Linked DNA regions of Homo sapiens: regions 1, 2 and 3 are each linked to region 4. Evidence: promoter capture Hi-C in 16 types of primary human blood cells and fetal thymus (Javierre and others, 2016). All regions are on one chromosome and are shown on one strand. The core of a region is centred on a gene start or on the middle of the fragment in contact, and the rest is flanking DNA. Distances in the headings are between cores, read along the strand shown.

Region 1 (3,121 bases), core at 135-2,634, 160 kb before region 4:
TTGTCCAATGTTGAGAAAGTTCAATTCACAGAAGTAAGTCATAAAATTGTTTTGCTTTACTTTATTTTTAATTTTTAAACAGCTTGCCTTGAAATCTCAGGATGCGCTCAATTAAACAGACCCAATACCTTAAATGTGGAGTAGGAGGAAAATTTGATTCTAAGTTGAATCATTAACAATATCTAAGTGCTTTTACTCCCTGTGTTAAATGTAAAAGTCAAATCAAAAGCAACCCAGCCTCAGGACAGGTGCTCGTGTGATATGATCCTGACTGCACAACTCACCATTATGCAGTGGGAGGGATCGTGATCACCTAGGTTTTGCCTGTGTGAATTTGGTTGAGTGTGACTCAGTTTACCATAGTAGTATGCTTGTACAAATTGAGAGGACATGCATGGACCTGGATTTTAAGAAATCACCTATATAGAGCTACAATCTTACTAATCAGTGACACCTCTGTTAAACATTCAAAGTTATGAATGAAACTAGCAGAAAAGATAAATTTTTCAGACTATCTCAAAGAGAATTTTCCTGGCAACATGAGTTAATACGTTGGTGGTCTCCAACATGTTACAATGTTTTGATACAAAGCGCATGTGACTATGTTGTTGTAAAATCACAGTTGATTTTTTAAATGATTTAAAGTACATATTTTGGGTAGCTTTTAAAAAAGTATTTATTTAATTTTAACAGGATTTATTGGTTTTCTTTGATTGCCTCTGGTCAAGCTTTGGAAGTTATTTTATTTTTTTAAATAGAAAATTCATGGAAATGGTGCAAAAGCCAAAAGGTGAAAACAACAAAAAAAGTATATTTTGTGACAAATAAGTCTCCTCCCTCAGCCCTGTTCCCAAGAAATGTTTTTCTTCCCAGACGCCACACCACATTTATCAGTTTCTTTGAATCCTACCAGAGATAGTCTATGCCTCTGTGTGTGTGTGTGTGTGTGTGTGTGTGTGTGTGTGTGTGTCTTAGCTTGGGTTGCCCCAGGAACAGACTTTGACACAGGATTTAAATGCAAGCAGCTCATCTAAGAGGTGCTCTCAGGAAACACCTTGCAGGAAGGTGAGGACAAAAGATGGGAAAGGGAAGGTAGCCAGTGGAGGAAAATTGATCAAGTAAATTACCGCTGTGGACAACCAGAGCTAACCCCACTGGGGAGCTCTGAGAGCCAGCATAGGACCTGTGGCTCAGAGTTATTTCTCCCAAGGGGAAATGGAGCTGGAATTTTATAACCAACTCCGTTGTCTGAGAGCTGTGGGGTGTGGGCAACCGGCCATGTGGTCAGGCACAGTGGACTCTGTCTGTCAAAGAAAACTCAGTCAAAGCAATGCAAGGGCTGGCAGTTTGAAGTGGGCTAGTGTGTAATGCAATGTCAAGGAGCAGGAAGTATGGGCAGGGTACAAACAGCATCTGCTACAATATTATCTGAAACACATTTTAATGAAATTAGCACCAAACATGTGCAGTAACTCATGGCCTAGCCCCATGAATGCCAGGCTTCCATAGAGACTGGTCTGAAGACCGTTGTCATTTTTGGCATGGCAAACAAAACCTTCTGGGGTTGATTCTTTTGGTTACTTCTGGTTCCTTTTCCATTTTGATCTCAGTCAAGTTTTTGCCCCAGTAATACAAATGACTTGTGCTTGCAGGTCCCCAGACAGTCCCGGTGTGCACACTTCCCTGCTTCTGTTCATGATGTTCTCTGAACCTGGGATCACCTTTCCCCTTCCTCTTACCTGCCCGATCCTACTTGTCCTCCCAGATTCAGGTGAGTTGGAAAGAATAAAACTGGCCTTATGGAGTTGTAGAAGCCTCAGTGAGAGGATGTGTATAATATTCAGCATGGTGTTTGGCACAAAACTCAGTAGTGGTCATCTGCCTGCCTGTCCATCTCCCCATCTGTCTGATAACTTGGGAGCCCACCCCAATGTTCCCAGACTATACCGGGATTCCTCTCTTCTGTGCCATCCTAGCACCCTAGGCACACCCATAGGAATGATCTGCTTGTCTGTCTCCCCCGATTGTGCCGGAAGCTTCTTTGGGACAGGAAGCAGACTTTGCTAATCTCTGAACCCCCATTGCTGGTACAGTGCCCAACACACAGTATGGCTTAGTGAATGCCTGGATAGAATTCAACTGAGTGCACCACACAGTAACAATTCTTTGAGGTGTTTGTGCAAATTCTGAAGAAGGAAAAATCACTGCACATAGGGTGGCTCATGAAGGTGTTTTTAGATGGGCCTCTATAAGAGACACACATATAAAGATTGCTTCCTTCTTCCTATTAGAAGAGCGAGCCTTGTTGACCTATGACTTTTTTGCATGCTAGATTGCATGCAAGATTGTTTTGCTCGTTACTTTCTCTCTCTCTCTCTTTCTCTCTCTCTCTCTTTCTTTTTAATGGATAGTCAGTCCACAAATATTTTCTGAGTCCCTACTATATATTGGACACTACTCTAGGGGATGGGGATACAGTGGTGCACATGACAGAAGGAGATCCTGCCTCAAGGAGCTTCCACTTTCTTGGAAAGTACAGAGTGGAATGTTCATTTGGACTGGCCTGCTGCTGCCAGGAGGATCTGAAGAATCTGGAACAAGTGGGGCTTCTCAGGGCCTGGCTGATGGATACATCAGACAGTTTTAGGTAAAGACGCAGGGGCAAAGATTCCAATTTGAGGCAAGCACCAAAGGAGATCAAGGACAGCTATCATTTAGAAACATACTGAGCACTCAGCTGTGGCCAGAATATGGAGGGCATAAAGAGATATAAGCCTCAGTCCCTGTAAAGATTTGCTGTCTACAATGGGAGAATAGAGTTAAGTCTCAGTTATTGTGAGTGGATTAACAACTTGATGACTATCCAGGTAATGAATAATTATAGATTCAAAGGAAGGTACAAAAAGTAGTTTAGAGGGGGACTGTGTACTCTTCACCCAATTTTCCCCAATATCACAGCCAGACAGTTGACAGTAGTATAATACACACACCTTATTTAAAGTTCGCTAGTTTTGCATCTGATTTTATACATTCTTAGCACACGTAAATTCATGTAACAACCACCATAATCAAGACACAGAACTGTTCTAGCACTACAGAGATATCTCTCATGCTATGCCTT
Region 2 (3,308 bases), core at 88-2,587, 180 kb before region 4:
CTGTGGTTGATTGGCTGGAGCTGCACTGTCCCGTGTGTAGCCACACATTGCTCCTCAGTGACTGAAATGTGACTGGTCCAAAGTGCAATGTGCTGTGAGGGTAAAGTAGACACCAGAGATTGAAGACTTACTATGAAAAAAGGAATGCAAACTATATCATTAATGCTTTTTAATATTCCTTATGTTAATAAAATTTATAGATGTCATTGGTTTGGACTGAGCAGGAGCACTAGGCCCAGCAGACCAAACCAAAGTGGAGTTATGCGTGCTGAAGTTCCACCCTATCAAGCCAAAAGTAAATTGTTTATCTGACCTTCTGAGAAATCAAGAGAGAGACAGATAATAGCCTAATCCCCAAAAGAGTCAGTTTTAGCCAGCATGATGAGGAAAGTGCCCTCTGCTTTTACCTTTACAAGGAAAGCAGCTTTGAAACAACCACTCTGATTTTTCATTCTGTTTCTGCTTTCTTCAGCCCTTTTCTGTCTATAAAATCTGCTCAGCCCATTGGAACACTTATTCTGTTTTATAAAATAAGATGTTGCCTCATTCTAGAATCACAAATAAAATCCAACTAAGATCATTAAACTAAATTTGTTGTTATTTTGTCTTTTGACAATTACATGTTAAGATAATATTTTGGATATATTGGGTTAATCATGTATGTTATTACAATTACCTTATTTTGTTTTACTTTTTTAATGTGACTACTAGAAAATTTTAAATTATGTATGTGGCTTGCATTGTATTTCTTTTGAACATCTCTGGGCCAGAGAATTTGGACTTCTTTAGCAGGCAGCAGAGAGTCTCAGAAGAGTTTTAAATGGATGTGGTCTGCTTCCAGTAAAGATCATCCTGGTTCCTTGTGGAGTTTGCTGAACCAGGCCAGAGGAGGGAAACTGTTGAGAGTCCAGGCCAGAGGGATGTGGGACTGAATTAAAGGCAGTGGAGTTGGGGATGAAGAAGGAGAAAGCAGAATGGAAGGTGGACAGAGACGGATCGAGGATGGTGCCCAGGTTTCTGGCTTGGGCCACTGTCTAGCTGGGAGTGGTAATAACAGGGATTAAAGTACAGGAGGGATGAATATTTCTAGGGGAAAGGTAATGAGTTCAGTTTCTGATATGATGAGTCTGAGGTGTGAGGGGAACATGCAGGTGTCCAACAGGCAGCCGAGCCCAGGAGGCTAGAAGCCTATGGGTTCCATCTTGAAAACGTATTTCAAATAAACCACTTCCTACCATTTCTATGGCTACTACCCAAGCTCCAGCCACCATAATCTCTTATCTGAAGAATTGCCATAGCAGTTGTTCAGATTGCTGGTCTCCATGCTGATGCATTTGCCATGTCTCTCAGTGTGGCAGCCTGAGGAATCTTGTCAAAAGCCACATCAGCACGTCATGCCTCCCCTTGTAATCTTCCGATGAATCACATCACACTCAGGGTTCATGCCACTCTGTACAGAGACCTAAGGCCCTATGCAACCTGGCTCCTCCTACTCTTTGAGTTCCCATTACTGAGGGAGACTCAGTGCCTCTGCTCCAAAGGCATTGGTCTCCTCACAATTCCTAGAACTTGTCAGGAACTCTCCTACCGCAGAGCCTTGGCACCTGGTACCCTAGCTCCAAAGCCCTTTGCTTAGATTAAGTTGACTCCCTCACCCCCTTCAGGGCTTTACCCAACGATCCCCTCTTTGTGAAGCCTCCCTGTTCATTCATCTAAAATGACACCCCTTACTCTTTCCTTCCCTTCTTTATCTTTTTATTAGCTCTCACCACTATTCATCATACATGTTACTTATCATGTTTAATGTTTGTCTCTCTCACTAGAATGTTAGCTCTATACATCAAAGATTTTGTCTGTTTTATTTTCCGTTGCAACTCCTGTGTCTAATAGTAGGTACTGGATTAATATTTGTTAAATGAACAGATGAATGACAGCATATCAGTGGGTAAGCACATAGATCCTAGAAACAGACCTGCTATTGACATACATCCCAGCTCTGCCACTCATCATTGTGACTGTGGGCCGATTATTTAACATCTCCGAGTCTTCATTTTCTCATCTATGAGATGGAGAGATTAATAGTAACTTCCACAAAAGATTATTGTGAAGACTCATTTATTCAGTACATGTGGAACCCCTAACAAGTGCCATGAGGTGTGCTTAACCGGGATTAAATAAGATATTGTAGACTTTGATGCTGGGTCTGCTACATTGTAAGCCCTCAGTAAATGCTTACATTCACTCAGTAAATGCTTACGAAGTTCACGTGTTGAAAACGTAATTCCCAGTGCAACAGTGTTGGGAGGTGGGGCCTTTGAGAGGTGATTAATGAATGAATTAATGTTGTTAATGGATAGATTAATGGGTCCTCATAAATGATTAATCACATCATCAATAACAAATCTCATGCATTTGTTATTGCAAGAGAGGAAGTGTTATAAAAGTGAGTCCGGTCTTGTGTGCTCTTGCCCTTTCCTCTTTCATCATGGGAGGATGCAGCAAAAAGGCCCTCACCAGACAAGGGCCCCTCGACCTTAGACTTCCGAGCCTCCAGAACTATAAGAAATAAACTTTTTAATTTATAAATTTAGCCAGGTATGGTGGTGCATGCTTGTAGTCCCAACTACTCGGGAGGCTGAGGCAGGAGGATCCCTTGAACCCAGGAGGTGGAGGCTGCAGTGAGATGAGATCATGCCACTGCACTCCAGCCTGGATGAGAGTGAGACTCTGTCTCAAAAAAAGTAAAATAAAATAAAATAAAATGAATAAATTACCCAGTCTGTGGTATTCTGTTACAGCAACACGAAACAAACTAAGACACTGAGTATTAGCACGAGGAGGAGGAAGAGGAAGGGTATCTGGCAGTCAGGAGAGGGGGCTGGTGTGAGCTGCCAATTTGGAATGAGCAGCACTGAAAGAAGGGTAGCTGGCCCAGGGAGAGCAAGCAGAATGGGCAGCGAGAAGTGTGGACTGTGCCGACTCTGCAGGGATGAGGCCATGACGGGGAGCTGGGAAGCAAGCTGGACTTTCAAGCCTGGTTAGGGAGTGGAAGGGGAATTCTGGTGTCATCATCAGCATATGAATCAGGCCTCCAGTGCCGGAGTCCAGAAGTAGAGCAAAGACCTCCCCAAAGCCACAAGTCATTGCTCCTGCAACACTGTGGGGCCCCCTGTAAGGTGCAAGATGCGGTGAGAAGAACATAATGTCACAGGGTCCTGCCTGCCTCAGACTGGATTAGGGTTGGACTCCGGAGTCCCAGGCCTCACTACTTGTGAACCCCTTTGTGAAGAAGCTAGAGCCTCATTCTG
Region 3 (3,211 bases), core at 581-3,080, 220 kb before region 4:
CAGAAGACTACAAGAGAACTCTTGTACCCTTTCAACAAATAGGCAGCATCACTTAGCACAAAGGAGGAAATGAAGCAATAATTGAAACCATGAAGTGGGTATCTTTGTATGCGTGCATGTTGTGAAAAAACGTGCATCATCCACATTAACACATAGCCAGATGAAAACCCAAGTCATCTCCTTTACTGTAATATTATTAGAAAACAGTGATACTTATTATTTCTTCATCACTTTCTAAGTTACGGGTTAATCTAATCTTGCAATGAGATTCTTCTGCATCAGGTAAAGTTACTCTTATTCTTCAATGATACCTCTTCAAAGAGTCTTTCCAGATTCATGTAGGGAGGGATCTTTTTTTCTCCTTCTTGGTAGCTGCTCACTGCTTTTTGTGCATGCCAGTATGATAGCACTTGTCGTGTGGCACTGTGATTTTTTATTTGTTCAAAAGGCTCTATCAGGCAAGAGCTATGGGCTTTGAGGTGCATCACTTGACTTCCCTGAAACACAAACTGGTAGAATAACAGTTCATCCCTCTTAGGGGTATTGCAAGAATTAAATTAAATGAGCTGTTGCATGAAAAGCACTTAGCATAATACCTGGCTTATAGTGGGAGCCCAGTAAATATTGGCAGTTAGCATTTTAGTGTTTATTCTCATTAAAATAATAATGATTATAATAATTATCATTGCTATGTCCTCTACTAGGTGGAGAAGTGCTTGAGGGCAGGGACTGTTCTGAGATCATAGTAGGTACTCTGTGGAAAAAAAGGAGGGAGGAGGGAAATAAAAAATGGAAACAACAAAGAGGGCAGCAATACCAGGTTTGCCCAGAAGTGACAACTCTAGGTAGCCAGAAATAGCCTCTCCAGCTAGAAGGGATCTCATGACCTTTTGTTTTATAGAAAAGGAAATGTAGGGGCCAAGAAAGGTTAAGGAGCATGTTTAGGATCACAGTGTTGGCAGCAGTGGCCTGGAATCCAGGCTCTCTCCTGGGGTTAACCTTCATAGCCCCTGCTTTATTGGCATCTCCACCTTCCTTAGTAAATGCCCATGTATCCATATGGCTTGATAAACCTTGGCTGATGTCTGCCACTGAGAGAATAGGGCATTTCCTATCTATCCCCAGATGGAGACTGAGGAGAACATGGATATTTGATGGGAATGTAATGTATTCGTTATCTTTTCAGTGTCTTTCTTGTAAAACCCAAAAGGCAGCCATTAAAAAATAATATGATCCTGGTCTTAATCCAGCAGGCTCCAAGCAGCCTCAGCCATTATGAGAGTTACTGACTCTAATTGCAAATTATGAGGCAGTTAAAGAAATATAGCATATGTCCTTCTTTAATATAGGTTTGAACCTTCTTTAATATAGGATTGAACTGAACTGTCTACAAGGATTACTGTCTTCCTTGGGAAATAGGCAAGCACTGAGCTGACACAGGAGCCAAAACAAGGTCTCTGGAACGTATACTGGCAGGAATATCAGAAAGGAAACCCATTCCTGTGTTTGAGTGGATGGGACTCCTCAGAAGTGAGAGAAAATTAATACTGAGATTGACAGAGTGCTTGAAAGGGGAGGTGAGAATGAACTAAATGTAAGAAAGCCAGGTTGGGTATAAAACTGTCTGTAACTGAATATACTTCATCACAAGCATCATGATCTCATGTGTGTATTATGGGTTACATTATACCTTAGGTACAGTCATTTGCCCAAATTGGGAATTTGCACCCTAGGGTGGAGAGCCAGCATTCGAATTAGGAAAACTGTACTCCAGAAGCAGCTACTACAAGAGCTCCCATGACCTTTATCTATGATCAATGGTAGAGGCTCTGCTAACTGGCATACTTAATGTTAGAAATAGGTTTCCGTTGATGAAATCCGTGGCTTCTTAGCATAGTGGATGCTCCAAACAGAAATTCATTCGTGAACTTACTAGTGGTAAAGATAAGTGAATTGTCTCAAGTATTTTAGAGTAGCTTCCTGCTTTTGATTAAAAAGAGTATAAACATCTAGCCAGTCCTGTAGCTCTTAGTGATGCAATCCTGGATCAAGATTTGGATTCAGAAGTTACTAGTTTCTTGATGTCAACTATGCAGATTAATTGAATTCTGTATCCAAAATATTGTTGTATTTACCTGAAAAGATGATGTGCTATCAGGAGCTAAAGAAGCCATGCTTTAACTATGAAGGGATAAACCCAAGGACAATATGCAAAGTATGTTATTTATCCAATGCTCTCTGACAAATTACTCCAAAATGTAGTGGCTTAAAACAACAATAATAATAATCTCCCATGATTTCTGTGAGTCAGGAATTTGAGAGCAGTTCTGGCTTGGAGATTTCTCATGAAGTTACAATCACATGTTGGCTGGAGCTGTAACTATCTGAAGGCTTGACTGGGGCTGAAGGACTCACTTCCAAGATAGCTAACTCCATGGCAGACAAGCTGATGCTCCCCGTTGGAGGGAGGCCTTAGCTTTTCTCTATGTTGGCTTCTCCATGTGTCCTGGATTTCCTCACAACATGGTGGTTGAGTTCCAGAGGCAAGCATCTGAAAACAGAGAGCCAGGTGGAAGCTGTATCCTTTCTGTGATCTACCCTCAAGAGTCACATAGCATCACTTCTGCCCCACTCCATTGACTGGGACAGTCACAATCCCCTGCCTAGATTTGAGAAGAGAGAACACAGACCCTTCCCTTAATGGGAGGAGTGTCAGTTGCCAGTCACATTGTGTGAAAATTATGTGCGATGAGATAAATATGTAGGTGTGGCATTTTTTGAGAAATACAACATGCTACAATAAGTAAGGATGGCAATGAGAAAAGGTAAGAAAACAAAAACAAAAAACCCACCTAGGGCCTTGATACCATCACTGGGCTACTGAAGTAATCAACCATGAAAACACCTACCTCAGAATATCTTGTTTTGTAAGATAGTACTTTATCTTCATTATTTTATTTGGGTATTCTATTATTATAGCTGAAAATATTTTAATGGATATTACTTGGTAGAAAAGCTAGAGCAAAAGACCTGGATTCAAATTCTCCCATGGCTCCCTAGATGATATTACTTCAACTAAAGTATTTATTCCCATTCATGTATTCAACAAATGTTTATAAATGAACTTCAATGTGCCAACAAGGTACTGTTTAAGACAGTAAGAATGCAACAGTGAGTAAAACCGGCAGAGATCCCTGTCCTCATGTAGCTA
Region 4 (3,595 bases), core at 290-2,789:
ATTTCTCTTCAGCTACCTTCAATCCCAGAGAGCAAAGAATCACATCCCAGGTGGAGCTGAAGATCTCTTAGGGAAAATGACTCAGGCTAGAGCCTGCATAAAAAGAGGATTGCATGGCTTAGTTTTGCAAACATAAATTTTGTGGGTTTCAGAGCTGGCAGAGAGCTCAAAGAGGAAATCATCAAGGGCAACTTTCTGCTTCGAGGAAGGAAAGTCTACAAGGGCTAAACCTGGATGTGCTATTTCAGTTCAGGCAAAGGAGGAAAATTAAAATTTTGCACAGTTTTATTCTGTTAAAACAAGTGGTTCAGTAAGCTAAACGAGATATGTATATAGTATGCATTAAAATGCAAGACTGACTTCCCTGGGAAAACGTGGGAAAGAAGGAGAGAGGAAACAAACAATTCTTACACTAAGAATTCTCCAGTCGTGTCTTGCAGGCAATATAGAGTAATAATAATAAAAATGACAGGAGATACTTTGACAGGATGGCTTAAAATGCCACTCAATAGATGAAGAGTTGTTCTCATGCTTGGCAAGTTTACAGCAAAGCCCAGAAGGAGAAGCCAGAAAATAATTTAGAAAAACCAAAGCTTAAAACTAGTGGCACACAACTCTGGTTACATTTTTCATTTTCATTTTTGGTTCCTCTGCATTTCGGTGGAACTCAGTCCCACAGATGTCTTCTTCAATGTGGGAACCATCCTTTCTGGAACCACAGAGCTGCAGATGTCACGCTGGAATTCTCCCAGAGGCAAACTGCCAGATGTGAGGCTGCTCTTCCTCAGTCACTATCTCTGGTCGTACCGGGCGATGCCTGAGCCAACTGACCCTCAGACCTGTGAGCCGAGCCGGTCACACCGTGGCTGACACCGGCATTCCCACCGCCTTTCTCCTGTGCGACCCGCTAAGGGCCCCGCGAGGTGGGCAGGCCAGGTATTCTTGACCTTCGTGGGGTAGAAGAAGCCACCGTGGCTGGGAGAGGGCCCTGCTCACAGCCACACGTTTACTTCGCTGCAGGTCCCGAGCTTCTGCCCCAGGTGGGCAAAGCATCCGGGAAATGCCCTCCGCTGCCCGAGGGGAGCCCAGAGCCCGTGCTTTCTATTAAATGTTGTAAATGCCGCCTCTCCCACTTTATCACCAAATGGAAGGGAAGAATTCTTCCAAGGCGCCCTCCCTTTCCTGCCATAGACCTGCAACCCACCTAAGCTGCACGTCGGAGTCGCGGGCCTGGGTGAATCCGGGGGCCTTGGGGGACCCGGGCAACTAGACCCGCCTGCGTCCTCCAGGGCAGCTCCGCGCTCGGTGGCGCGGTTGAATCACTGGGGTGAGTCATCCCTTGCAGGGTCCCGGAGTTTCCTACCGGGAGGAGGCGGGGCAGGGGTGTGGACTCGCCGGGGGCCGCCCACCGCGACGGCAAGTGACCCGGGCCGGGGGCGGGGAGTCGGGAGGAGCGGCGGGGGCGGGCGCCGGGGGCGGGCAGAGGCGCGGGAGAGCGCGCCGCCGGCCCTTTATAGCGCGCGGGGCACCGGCTCCCCAAGACTGCGAGCTCCCCGCACCCCCTCGCACTCCCTCTGGCCGGCCCAGGGCGCCTTCAGCCCAACCTCCCCAGCCCCACGGGCGCCACGGAACCCGCTCGATCTCGCCGCCAACTGGTAGACATGGAGACCCCTGCCTGGCCCCGGGTCCCGCGCCCCGAGACCGCCGTCGCTCGGACGCTCCTGCTCGGCTGGGTCTTCGCCCAGGTGGCCGGCGCTTCAGGTGAGTGGCACCAGCCCCTGGAAGCCCGGGGCGCGCCACACGCAGGAGGGAGGCGACAGTCCTGGCTGGCAGCGGGCTCGCCCTGGTTCCCCGGGGCGCCCATGTTGTCCCCCGCGCCTACGGGACTCGGCTGCGCTCACCCAGCCCGGCTTGAATGAACCGAGTCCGTCGGGCGCCGGCGGGAGTTGCAGGGAGGGAGTTGGCGCCCCAGACCCCGCTGCCCCTTCCGCTGGAGAGTTTTGCTCGGGGTGTCCGAGTAATTGGACTGTTGTTGCATAAGCGGACTTTTAGCTCCCGCTTTAACTCTGGGGAAAGGGCTTCCCAGTGAGTTGCGACCTTCAATATGATAGGACTTGTGCCTGCGTCTGCACGTGTTGGCGTGCAGAGGTTTGGATATTATCTTTCATTATATGTGCATCTTCCCTTAATAAAGAGCGTCCCTGGTCTTTTCCTGGCCATCTTTGTTCTAGGTTTGGGTAGAGGCAATCCAAAAGGGCTGGATTGCTGCTTAGATTGGAGCAGGTACAACGTTGTGCATGCCCCGTATTTCTACGAGGTGTTCGGGACGGCGTAGAGACTGGGACCTGCTGCGTACTGGCAAAGCAGACCTTCATAAGAAATAATCCTGATCCAATACAGCCGACGGTGTGACAGGCCACACGTCCCCGTGGGTCTCTGTGGAAGTTTCAGTGTAGCGACATTTCAGATAAAAGTGGAAAAAGTGAAGTTTGGCTTTTTTCATTTGTATGCAGTCCTAACTCTTGTCACACGTGTGGGATTTATCTTTTTCCATAACTTACTGAAAACCCTTCCTGGCGGGCTGAACCTGACTCTTCCTGAGCTGAGTCCTGGACTGGCACACTGATGGCTCTGGGCTCTTCCCGGTCAAGTTATAACAAGGCTTTGCCCATGAATAATTTCAAACGAAAATGTCAAGATCCTTGCCGGTGTCCTGGGATTACAAGGTGAATCTTGTCATGAAGAAATTCTAGGTCTAGAAAAAATTTGAAGATTCTTTTTCTCTTGATAATTCACTAATGAAGCTTTTGTGGTTGAAAAATAAAAAGTGAGGTTTATGGTGATGTCAGGTGGGAAGGTGTTTTATACATCAATACATTCGAGTGCTCTGAAGTGCATGTAATAATAGCTGTTTCTCTGTTGTTTAAAGGCACTACAAATACTGTGGCAGCATATAATTTAACTTGGAAATCAACTAATTTCAAGACAATTTTGGAGTGGGAACCCAAACCCGTCAATCAAGTCTACACTGTTCAAATAAGGTAAGCTGGGTACAGAAAAAGAAAATTAAGGTCTTTGATGTTTCTACTGTCCTATGCTGAACAAGAATGTCTTTAAAGCTGATTACTGGATGAAATTATTTAACAGATGACGAAGAAGAAGGGATTCTTGGCAATTCGCTGGCCGGTGTCATACTCTATTAGGCCTGCAACATTTCCAGACCTTAAACTGATAGAACATTTTAATTGTTTTAATTGTTTTTGGAAATGATGGGAGAGTTCCTAAGTGGAGTATAAACTGTGGAGAGATGAACCATCTTGAGTAGGCACTGAAGTGTGCTTTGGGTCATGATAGATTAATTAATCTCATCTAAACATTGATGTCTTTTTCTGTTGCTGTCTAGACTGTGAACAATGTCTAACACCTTAGGGAAGAGGTGGGGAGGAATCCCAATGTATACATTGCCCTTAAGCAGTGTTTGATTCATTCATCTTTGGACTCCATGAATCGAAATCTGGTAGAATACATGATCTTAGTGGAGGAGGCCAAATGCGTGACTCACTGAGCCTGGCAGAGCAGAAATACTCTGCTGTCT

Evidence for each region. Contacts are between HindIII fragments. The CHiCAGO score rates a contact against its expected background, and 5 or more counts as called.
Region 1: a contact is called between a fragment that was not itself captured here and the fragment with the promoter of F3 in region 4, in 5 of 17 cell types (M1 macrophages, M0 macrophages, M2 macrophages and 2 more). The highest score is 10.7, in M1 macrophages.
Region 2: a fragment that was not itself captured here is called in contact with the fragment with the promoter of F3 in region 4 in 6 of 17 cell types (M2 macrophages, M0 macrophages, M1 macrophages and 3 more); the score reaches 27.6 in M2 macrophages.
Region 3: a contact is called between a fragment that was not itself captured here and the fragment with the promoter of F3 in region 4, in 4 of 17 cell types (M1 macrophages, M2 macrophages, monocytes and 1 more). The highest score is 11.5, in M1 macrophages.

What each region holds. Positions count from the first base shown.
Region 1 is chr1:94,704,089-94,707,209 of GRCh38, reverse strand. The region is part of intron 2 of SLC44A3-AS1 (SLC44A3 antisense RNA 1); the gene reads left to right. Among named protein-coding and RNA genes, the nearest start is that of MIR378G, 40 kb to the left of the region's middle. The HindIII fragment of the contact is 1,308 bases long and covers 731-2,038 here.
Region 2 is chr1:94,723,883-94,727,190 of GRCh38, reverse strand. All of the region lies in intron 2 of SLC44A3-AS1 (SLC44A3 antisense RNA 1), which reads left to right. Among named protein-coding and RNA genes, the nearest start is that of MIR378G, 20 kb to the left of the region's middle. The HindIII fragment of the contact is 8,686 bases long and covers 1-3,308 here.
Region 3 is chr1:94,764,982-94,768,192 of GRCh38, reverse strand. All of the region lies in intron 1 of SLC44A3-AS1 (SLC44A3 antisense RNA 1), which reads left to right. Among named protein-coding and RNA genes, the nearest start is that of MIR378G, 21 kb to the right of the region's middle. The HindIII fragment of the contact is 9,408 bases long and covers 1-3,211 here.
Region 4 is chr1:94,539,703-94,543,297 of GRCh38, reverse strand. It overlaps F3 (coagulation factor III, tissue factor), which reads left to right and starts at 1,539. Exons shown (of 6, transcript NM_001993.5): 1 at 1,539-1,761; 2 at 2,930-3,041. The coding sequence starts at 1,662. It overlaps LOC124904223 (a long non-coding RNA gene), which reads right to left and starts at 1,324. Exons shown (of 2, transcript XR_007066234.1): 1 at 1-1,324. RefSeq lists a silencer at 1,340-1,619. The HindIII fragment of the contact is 2,211 bases long and covers 596-2,806 here.